Linked DNA regions of Homo sapiens: all the other regions are linked to region 3. Evidence: promoter capture Hi-C in 16 types of primary human blood cells and fetal thymus (Javierre and others, 2016). All regions are on one chromosome and are shown on one strand. Each heading gives the region's core, a stretch centred on a gene start or on the middle of the fragment in contact. The rest is flanking DNA. Distances are from core to core; before and after follow the strand shown. Region 1 has its middle 56 kb from the start of ZBTB20. Region 2 overlaps ZBTB20 (zinc finger and BTB domain containing 20). Region 3 holds the start of GAP43 (growth associated protein 43). Region 4 has its middle 85 kb from the start of ZBTB20.

The links. Contacts are between HindIII fragments. The CHiCAGO score rates a contact against its expected background, and 5 or more counts as called.
Region 1: a contact is called between a fragment that was not itself captured here and the fragment with the promoter of GAP43 in region 3, in 1 of 17 cell types (endothelial precursors). The highest score is 5.6, in endothelial precursors.
Region 2: a contact is called between a fragment that was not itself captured here and the fragment with the promoter of GAP43 in region 3, in 1 of 17 cell types (total B cells). The highest score is 5.6, in total B cells.
Region 4: a contact is called between a fragment that was not itself captured here and the fragment with the promoter of GAP43 in region 3, in 2 of 17 cell types (megakaryocytes and total CD8 T cells). The highest score is 5.4, in megakaryocytes.

The regions. Positions count from the first base shown.
Region 1 is chr3:115,201,678-115,204,413 of GRCh38, forward strand. No RefSeq gene overlaps it. Among named protein-coding and RNA genes, the nearest start is that of ZBTB20, 56 kb to the left of the region's middle. The HindIII fragment of the contact is 1,029 bases long and covers 760-1,788 here.
Region 2 is chr3:115,113,930-115,116,629 of GRCh38, forward strand. The region is part of intron 1 of ZBTB20 (zinc finger and BTB domain containing 20); the gene reads right to left. Among named protein-coding and RNA genes, the nearest start is that of ZBTB20-AS4, 15 kb to the left of the region's middle. The HindIII fragment of the contact is 157 bases long and covers 1,181-1,337 here.
Region 3 is chr3:115,622,224-115,624,923 of GRCh38, forward strand. It overlaps GAP43 (growth associated protein 43), which reads left to right and starts at 1,287. Exons shown (of 3, transcript NM_002045.4): 1 at 1,287-1,496. The coding sequence starts at 1,467. The HindIII fragment of the contact is 1,952 bases long and covers 617-2,568 here.
Region 4 is chr3:115,230,717-115,233,426 of GRCh38, forward strand. No RefSeq gene overlaps it. Among named protein-coding and RNA genes, the nearest start is that of ZBTB20, 85 kb to the left of the region's middle. The HindIII fragment of the contact is 1,241 bases long and covers 837-2,077 here.

The DNA.
Region 1 (2,736 bases), core at 24-2,523, 420 kb before region 3:
TGAGTATCTGGGACCACAGGCATAAACAACCATGCCTGGCTAATATTTCAATTATTTTGTAGAGACTGGGTGTTGCCATGTTGCCCAGGCTGGTTTTGAACTCCTGGGCTCAATTGATCGTTTTGCTTCAGTTTCCCAAAGTGCTGGGATTACAGGTGTGAGCCACTGCACCTGGCCGTGTTTCTTAAACTTTAATGTGCATATAAATCACTTGGGGGTGTTGTTAAAATGAAAATTCTGATTGATGGTCCAGAGTGTACAATCTGAGATTCTGCATTCTAAACAAGCTGTTGGTCCACCCAAGGACCACATATTGAGTAGCAAGGATTTATTTCTACTCCTTTGCTTAATAGATGAGGGACAGTCAGTGCTTCACCTGCTTTTTTAGGGCATCATCGTGACTTAGGCAGACTTGAAGTCATTGGAACTGAATATTATTAATGTCAGTTTCTCAAACTCTTACCACTAAGGTCTCTGGTGAGGCCTTGGTTGCTACCTTTCCTGAGTTGAGGTTTTCAACTTTTTATTTCATTCAGTGTGAGAACTGAAAGATTACTTTTAATAAATGTTATTTTTCTTTTTACCTTTTTTTTGGCCTGAGTTATTCAGACATGGTTTCTGTTGCTTGCAATCAACATAATATAACCTATACAGGGTATGTTTTGGGACTTACATGGCAAAGAAATATACCATAGTTGCATTACAAGGGAATAAATTCTTCTTTCCTCAGAACACAGCAGATAAATTTATTTCCTTAAAAGCTTACACAGATCCACTGGTGACTCACAAATGTCTTTCTCCAGCATGATCTTCTTCCTCATCTTCCTGGCTCTATCCAACTTCCAATTTGGCACTTCTATTTGAATATCTAATAGTCATCTCAGACTTAACATATCCCAAATCCAAAATTGAACCGTCCAAACTTGATGTTTCTATAGCAAATGGCACTCTTTTTACGCAGTTGCTCAGGTAAAAACCTAAGAATCATCCTTGATTTCTATTTTCCCCTCCCTAAATTCAATCCATTAGCAAATTCTATCAGTTCTGCCGTAAACATCTAGCACAAATCAACCACTTGCTATCTCAACTGCCTTGTCCTAGTCTAAACGATAGTCATGTCTGCCTTACACAACTACAAAAGCCTTCTAGTTCTACTTTTTGCTCCCACTCTAGTTTTTCCACATAGCAGCCCAAGAAATTCTTTTAAAATGTAAACAAGATCTTGTTACTTTTATGCTCAAAGCTGTTGAGTAGCTTCTTATCCCACTGAAAATAAAATCCAAACTCCCTACCATGATTTGCAGAGCTTATGTAATCATTGCTTTACTAAACCTCTTTACTTCTTGTAAAGAAATGTGCCATCTTTTGCTGCTCTCCCCTGGCACTCCCTGCTCCAGCTATGCTGGTCTCCCTCTTCAACTGGAATGAAAGTCCTAAGGGCAGAGATTTTTGTCTGTTTTACTTACTGTTGTATTCCTCCTACCTAGAATAATGCCTGTCACAAAGTAGATGTCAATTAATAATTCTTAAATGATTGAATGAAGAATGTGCAATCAATTAGGCACAGTAAATAGACAGACCCAGTCACTGGGACTCTGACAGGAAGTGGGGACTGGTCACTGGAGACAAGACCTAGGTTTTTACTGCTAACTGCTTATACTGCTAATCATTTATACCACTAATCATCCGTGTGTGGTATTACCTTTAATTTTGAAGTTCAAGATTTGTTCCCATAAACTTAGAACAAGGCTAGCAGTAAGGTAGATTGGGTAAAATGGCTGTCATCTAAGCTTCTCATTTTTCCCAACCAGAAGAATACAGTGTGTAAATGGCCTTCAAATGACCGTAGCTGGGAGTAGTAGAGAGATGCTAAGGCAGGCAGTGAAGCAGGTGATGTGTTGCTGTTACTGTACAGAGTTGCTATGGATAGTTTGTGTAGCTTTAGGAAGAAAATAAAGTAGATATCTTGCAATATATCGATTAACCAAATAAATTACTTGTTATTCATTCTTAAGCCTGTTCTGCCAGAAAGAAAATGGCACAAAATATTAACAAAAGCTTTGTATAAGGTAATTGTGGCTTGGAAATCTTATGACTGCAAATAATGACGTGACTGTGCTCACAAGGACAAAGGAATAAACAATAAGTAGAGATTTTAAAAATTACCCAACACACTTCTTCCACAGAAAGAAGGTTTTCCACTTTCTGTGGAACAGTGTCTATGATTATTCCTATTCTAAAGCCATTCAAGTGTCTTCTAGTTCCTTAGCCCTCATTTTCTTACAGATATATATTACTTAGTTCTTGCTTTTTCCCAGTCTTGTCCAAACACCAGCATCAACAATCTTTCTCCTATAGGTTAAATTCTACAACTCCCTAAACCAGTGGAAATCAAACTTGTCAGTACTTTAGTTGTTCAAATTTATAAGTGAATAGAGTCTGGAAATGGTCTGTGGCCTCCAGGCTGAGTTTTAGTGTCCTGGGCAAAGCCCTTTGCCACATGCTTCTGCAGTAAGGGGCAATCTGCCCAGTAATGTTCAACATATGTAACTAGTCCGTGTGCATGGTTTCTGCTTCCTGTCTGGTGTGCAATCTAACTTTCTACTGGGACCATAACCTCCTCATCATTGACCTAATACTCTAATCCTCTTTCCTTTTTTTTTTCTGTAAATCTACTTTCTCTGGGGACTGAACTTTCTTTCGGGCCACTTTCAAACTGGACTAACTTAATTGCAG
Region 2 (2,700 bases), core at 9-2,508, 510 kb before region 3:
TCTGAGTCATTTCTGTTTGTCTTGGCATTGATTAATATAAGCCCATACTCCAATATATGCATAATTATTTATAATATACATACATTACTACAATACATACATTACAGAACATGCAGCAATAGATATTTTAAAAGACTGAGGTAAACAAGAAGTAAACATTCTAAATTTGGGGCTCTGTTTATCAACAATTTTAAAACATTTTGCTCTTACTGAAGAGCAAACTGCTCTTGATGCTCTTACTGAAAAACATTAAAACAAAAATTTGAGTAAATATGTGTCATTCTCTACGTCTTGGCTTGGTTTTACACTTTGTAAAACAGTCATCTGAAAATACAGTACTATTTTCAGGTTACTTAGATATAATGGTTGTCATGGGTGCAGAGGAGGGGTGGTGGTAAGTTGAGGGAGAAAGCCTCACAAAATAGTAAATTCAAATGGAAGAAGAGTATCAATGGCTGTGCTTACTACATCAAAATAATCAATTTTCAATATTAATGGCCAATTATGTAAAATACTTTGTTGAAATTTAGCTAGTAAATTTCCATCTTCAGATGAATAAGTCATTCCTATAAACTAAGAGGTGTAGCGTTTTATTTTTTAACAAAAGGATTTTAAAATCAATTTAAAGATTACATTTGAAAGATCTTAAAGTAAGTTATAACATTATGTTCCAAGTTTTACAAAATATGCCAATATATTTTTGTACAATTTTCAATGTATATAGAAACTAGTTTTACAAATACATTGGTTTTTGGCAAGAAAATCACATTGTAATGAAAAGAATTACAAACATTCAATATGAAATGTTTTCTCCATAACCACAGGTCCTTCAAAAAGCAGTTACCTTCTCACTCATTATTAGTACTACTACTTTAAAAAGACAGATCGAATATGTTATTTTTCAAAAATATACATTAGAGCGCATAGTATGGACAGTCACCTGTCATAACAGAAAAGGTGAGTAAAATTAGAACCTTGTCATTCTGTAAAAGAAAAATGCATAACTGCCATAAATTTCTTATTACTTCTCAATACTCTACCACTGGATAACCAGTGAACCTCAAGTGGTGCAAATGATATTCATGGCCCATTCTCCATCTTATTACAAAGTATCATAAAGATTCCACTAAAATTTTAAGATTCTTTCACATTTGGTAACATATTTTTGACTACATTTTAAAGCTTTAACTTAAAAAACGAAAACAAAGTGACCACATCAATGATGTCCTACAGCACTTGTGTGTACTTGTGACTTCAATTTATTTGTTAAAATAGCTTGTCTGTAAAAGACTGAAGGGATTTCATGTGTAGAAGTAGTTCTGTAACCTGCCTCGGCAAGCTTTTTTCTATTCCATTCAAATCGACCACTCCAATATTCTAAAACTATGTAACTATAGATAACATAGATTTTCAAGAACACACTGTTTTACTGTAGGGCAGTATTTTGCTGTTTAGCCACAATCTTCTCCAGTGATTATTTTGGTGATTTATAACAACATAGTTCTTCGAATTATTTCAATTGAGCCTAGCAAATATCATTGGATGAAATGTTAGAAATATTGGTACTTTCATTTAACTATATAGTAAACATTCCACACTGCATAATTTGTTCAATACTTGTTTTTGCAAATCTTCAGCAATGTTTTCTATACATATTCTAGCAGTATTTGCTGACAAATGTGATAGTTTGTTGCCATATTATTTTTCACACATTATTTCAGCCATTATTGCTCTTGAAGAACAGTGTTTCCAATGGTAAATATGTTTGTATTTTAATATTGTTTTTTAAATCCCCAAAAGTCTTCTAAATATTAATTTAATGATTTTGTAAAGTCTGTACTGAGTCTCACGTGACATTAAACACTGCTTGATTCATGATCTAGGTAGTTAGATTTTAATGCCTTACCAATGAAATGGTCTTCCACCATCGCACACCATACACTGAGGGTGACATTCTTTTTCAATGACAGTGAATATAAATCATTTCAAATAGACTTCTTGATTATTATTTTTGATCAATGTTCAAATATTGCTAAATCATCATTGTTCTTACTTTATAATGTAGTTTACAAAGTGTTCATAATATGTTTCAGGGATGTTCTTTTTCAAATGGGCTTGGATTATTAGTATCATCTTTTCTATGCTTTTTTTCAGTCAGTTGTCTGTTTTGTAAGAGTTAGTTTTAGTTAAACTAATCTGTCACTAATCTGTGACTCCACATAACAAGGCACAGATAACATTTAGTAGCTCCAACTCTTTAACAAACTCCACTCTCTCCCATCAGGATGTTCTGTTTAAGTAGCAATGCATGTAAATAATGCTCTGATATTGCCCAGCTCTATCTGGGCATATTAACTGCTGGTAACTTTAACTTCTTAGATTTTTTAAATAAAAAACACAAATAACAATTTTTATTTCCTCTCAAACCCTAACGCATCATCTTGCATATTTCTTGGAATGCATGGACTTTATTTTTGAGGCCACTATTCTACAGTATGGGCTTTGGACTCAGATTTTAAAAATATTTATTGGATATGTATATTGAAGCAGGTTACTTATCCATGAGTCTCATATAGCTTATCTATAAAATAAGAATAACTATATCACAGAACTGTTTGATAACTACATTAGATTGATAATAAGAGATAACATTTTTGTGAACATACAAAGTGCAAGGCTCTAGTCAAAGCACACAAAATT
Region 3 (2,700 bases), core at 37-2,536:
CAGAAAAGTACAGTCTCTGGAGTAAAGCTATTATACACTCAGAGAGACTGTTGTGCTTTGCATGCGTTATATCATTTAGTCCTCAAAACATGTTGTCAAGATTGGCATTATTATCTCCATTTTAAAGATGAGAAAATTAGGTGCAAAGAGCTTCAGTAACACACTCAAACTCATTCAACAATAAATAACTAAAAATTGTGCTATACACACTTTAAGAGTCACATGTTCCTCCCCCAAAATTATGAAAGGCCATAGAAGGAATTCAAGAAGTAGGCTTCATGACTTATCGTTTCTTCTCATCTCAGATGAATTCACTTTAATCTCTCATGCCCAAATTGTAAAATATCATTTTGATCACCGTCAATATTACACAGACCTGTTTGAATGTGCTCAGCTTTTTCAGTAAAATTAGAAGAAACCACAATTTACAAACAGGTATATGTGCATTAAGGAAAAAACAAAAAACTACCATGTGATTTTAGATATGGATGCCAATTCTTAAACATTGTTTATTATTTCTGAGCTCAAGTGCTTAGAATGTTTAAAATGCAATATATTTATGTGGATTTTTTTCCAGGATATTGGAACATATATAAAATATGCTTGTGCATATCTAAGCTTTGTATTTATTTCAGGTTATATGTATACTGAGAAGAATATATAAACAGTGTATGATATTTACATGTTATTTCATTTTTTGAGGGAAATTAACCTCCACAATTATTAACTATGCATAAAATGTAATGGCAGATATGACTTATATTGTATAGGACTGACTACAATTCCTCTTTAGAAATAGCTGTTCTTTGCTTTTATAATACTAGGAAAAGAGGAAAAGAGTTCTTAAAGAAATACAAGGATTCCTCAAGCCCCTCTTCCCTAAAACATGCTCTATCATATCTCCTGGATTGACTGGAATATCCTTCTCTGCCCCCACCCCATCACCCTCTCAATGCAGTGGAAAAGTCGGTGGGTAATTGGGTCCAGATTGGAGGTGTTTAAATATTCATGAGGCTGGCAGGGGACTGGGAGGGGGCGACTGTCTAGAATGGGGGTAGGGGCTGGGGGAAGTGATTAGTCACTGAAGGCTAGAGAACAATTCCGAGAAAGAGACGGAGAGAGAGGGAAGAAAAAGACAGATAGATAGATATTGGGGGGAAGGAGAAAAAAGGAGAAGAGAGGGAAGAGAGGACAGCGGAGAGAGAGCACCAGAGAGAGAGGGAGAGAGAGAGAGAGCGCTAGAGAGAGGGAGCGAGCATGTGCGATGAGCAATAGCTGTGGACCTTACAGTTGCTGCTAACTGCCCTGGTGTGTGTGAGGGAGAGAGAGGGAGGGAGGGAGAGAGAGCGCGCTAGCGCGAGAGAGCGAGTGAGCAAGCGAGCAGAAAAGAGGTGGAGAGGGGGGGAATAAGAAAGAGAGAGAAGGAAAGGAGAGAAGGCAGGAAGAAGGCAAGGGACGAGACAACCATGCTGTGCTGTATGAGAAGAACCAAACAGGTAGAGCTAAAGATTTTTTACTTCTTGCTGTTGTGAAATAACCCGAGTACAGTATTTCCCCGTAAAGGCAAACAATTTTTTTACTGCTTCTGCTCTGGCCGTGGTGCTCGCGCTTCCTTAGCATATGGTAACTGATGGTTGCATCCCAGCTTTTATTCTTTTCTGTCTTTCATGCTCTGGTTTTGGAATGCTGCTACTAATTAGGGTGAGGGTAGAAAAAACATGCCTGTTTGGCTAGAAATAATTTTTTTTTTTCTTATTAGTGAATGCTCAGCATTTGAGGTCTCTGGTCTTGAGGGTGTGGACGTAGAAAGGGGTGTGGGGGAGATGATGTGGGCTCTACCTACAAGATGGGGAGGCATTTCTTTATATTATTTGCAAAAAAGCAGGGTTGAGGAAATAATATTCAGAACTGAGTATTGCCTCTCTGTCATACAATTTTCTCACATGTGCTGCGGAAGATGCCTTATTTCGTGCATGCATGAGCTTCGAAGGGGCGCAGGTATTTATGGAAAAACGTGCAGGTCTTATTTATTTAGTATTTATTTTTCAATGAATGAATGAAACTGTGATTTGATAGATTTTTTTTTTTTTTAAGAGAAGCTAAGACAACTGGGGCTGGGGGAGAAATTGGCCATGCAGAAGGAGAAAATCCCCTTCCTAAGATCAGCAGCCGATTGTGCACCAGCTGGTCGGAGGAGAGGGTGGACCACGCCCCTAGGAGCTCCGATGGGATGGGAAAGACAGCCGGGTATTACCTGTTGGAAACCAGGTCTTTTCTCTTATCCCCTTCCCTTGCTTCTTTCCTGGGATTGTCAGTGACCAGAGACAGGCTAACATCCTGGATAATAAGTATGGTGACTCATTTTCATCAGGAAGAGGGACACATCCAAGATTAGCAAGAATCAGAGCCCCTCCTTCCCTCCCCCACTGCCCAGGTTTTACAGCCATTTCCAATTGCTCGCTTATTTCTTGAAAGACATTTTAGAAACTTGATTGGGGTGAGAGTGGGAAGGAATGACGAGTGTGGTATTCCGCAGCAACCGACCATGCCATGGCAGTCTCCAAAAGAAGCTTTCAAACATTTGTTGGAATGCATTTGAGTGATTTTGGCAAAGGTTAAAGAGAAAAATGGGTGTGGGATACGGGTGAGTGTGTGCGTATGCTTGACTGTGGTGGGGGTGGGGGTGTGGTGGGGGCAATC
Region 4 (2,710 bases), core at 207-2,706, 390 kb before region 3:
TTCTACGTGATTTTTCCTATACTGCTATGATTCTTGTGTTTGTATCCACTCTTAATTGTCTTTCATATTGCAGACATTCCATACATAATAACTCTTTTCACTTTTATACTATCAATGTATAGTATATTGATTTAAGTAGGTCCTCTCCCTAATAAAATCATGTTGCTTATAGTCTGCTGTGGTCTTGGAACCCATAAAGACAAGCTGTTAGAAGTGTACATAAAGTGAGAGTGATTAAGTTCTGATTGGGTAATGTATTAGGGTTCTCTGACTGGGTAGTGTATTAGAGGGATAGAACTAATAGGATATATATATATATATATATGAACATATATATATATAAACTCATATATACAAACTCATATATATATAAATTCATATATATATACTCATATATATATAAATTCATATATATAAACATATATTTATGTGTATATATACATACACACACACACACACACACACACACACATATATATATACACACACTCCTAGGGCACTCATTTATCTACCTATCTGTGATGGTTAATACGGAGTGTCAACTTGATTGGATTGAAGGACACAAAGTATTGATCCTGGGTGTGTCTGTGAGGGTGTTGCCAAAGGAGCTTAACATTTGACTGAATGGGCTGGGAAAGGCAGACCTACCCTTAACCTGGTGGGCACCATCTAATCAGCTACCAGCAAATATAAAGCAGACAGAAAAACATGAAAAGGTGAGACTGGCTTAGCTTCCCAGCCTACATCTTTCTCCCATGCTGGATGCTTCCTGCCCTGGAACACTGGACTCCAAGTTCTTCAGTTTTGAGACTTGGACTGGCTCTTCTTGTTCCTCAAGCTTGCAGACAACCTATTACGGGACCTAGTGATCACATAAGTTAATACTTAATAAACTCCCATATATATGGATCATTTTGGAGCTTCATCACTTATTTTAGTTCTGAATCACTGAAACTTATACAAGTTCTATATCTTTTACATCTAACTCCCATATATATATATAGGAGTTTATATCATATATATATATGATATAAATAGGAGATATATATATACTTTATAAACTCCCATATATATGATATATATCTCCTATATCTCCTATATATATCATATATATACTCAAACTCCTCTATATATGATACATATAGGATATATATATATGCTCAATAAATATTAGGGGTTTTTTTTTTTCTTTTTTCTTTTTTTGTTTTTTTTTTTGAGATGGAGTCTTGCTCTGTCACCCAGGCTGGAGTGCAGTGGCATGATCTCGGCTCACTGCAAACTCCACCTCCCAAGTTCTAGTGATTCTCGTGGCTCGGCCTCCCAAGTAGCTGGGATTACAGGCATGTGGGACCACACCTGGCTAATTTCTGTATTTTTAGTAGAGACAAAGTTTCACCATGTTAGCCAAGCTCGTCTCAAACTTCTGACCTCAAATGATTTGCCACCTCAGCCTCCCAAAGTGCTGGGATTACAAGCATGAGCCACTGTGCTCGGCCTAGTTATTTTTTTGGTTATTAACTAGCTGGGTGATTGTGTGTGTGTGTGTGTGTGTGTGCGCGCGTGTGCATGCATGTGTCAACTTTCAAATTCTCTGGGCATTAAGAGGTAGGCTAGATAATATACTGTCTAATTTCCTTCCAGCATTATTATTCTGTGACTATGGCAGTGTAGCCTAATATTTACAGAAAGGAGTCATCTGTTTTATAAGCCAAGTGGCTTAGGGGTGCAATCTCAGGATTTGTACCTTGAAAATCCATGTAAATTTGTGCTTTTAGGTTGAGTAAAGATTACAGGAAGTGCAGTATATACTGTTAAACAATATTTTTTGTTTTGGTTATGATAAAATTCTGTGCTAGAATTACTCTGTTGTGATTGTTCCTTCTATGTAAAGTGTATGTAAAAGTGGTGAAAATTTAGTCTTCTCAGCTGGGATATGAAAATACATATTATGTTTCTCATTGTTAAACTGAAGCCACACGATTTAGAACATAGAAAAGATAAGTGTAAGTAACACCATGGATTGGACTACTTAAAAATTTTAAATGGTTATAAATAATGGATGGATATATCGTACTGAAGCTTAAGCCAAGAGGGTGCTCACTCAGTAGTTTAAGGCATCAATACTCTTAACAGTATTTATTAGGAATAAAAAAGTTCCTCTCACCCTCTTGCTTTACAATATAACCCATGAACAATCAAGTGATTCTTTTAAGAGAGATGGAAGCACTTATTAAACATTGTAGTTATGTGCATAACTATTTTGAAGGAAACACAGGGTTTAAAATGATAGGAAATACGTTGATGTGTCATTCCAGGGGCAATCCTGAAGCAAGGATTCAGAGAAGCATGAGTGGAGAGTGATAGAAGGAAAGGGGGTAATTTATTTGCTTCTCCCTCTTCCTGGCTGGTTATGCCCGATTAAGAGGAGCTGGGCATGCTCACAGTAATGAGTAAGCAATGGGGCTATGCCAATTAACATTAAAGCAGTGGTCCTCAACTATTGCTGCATTCACCAATTGAAAAAGGGAAGGATGTTACAGAGATGTTCTGAATCTGGCTTGCACCAGTTCCTGAGAGCAGATTGTTAAATTTTCAGGAATCTTGTGAGTCACTTATTAAACAGTCATTATTAAAAAATAAGATGGGTACAGAAGCTCATGCCTGTAATCTTAGCACTTTGGGAGGCCGAGGCAGGAGTATTGCTTTGATG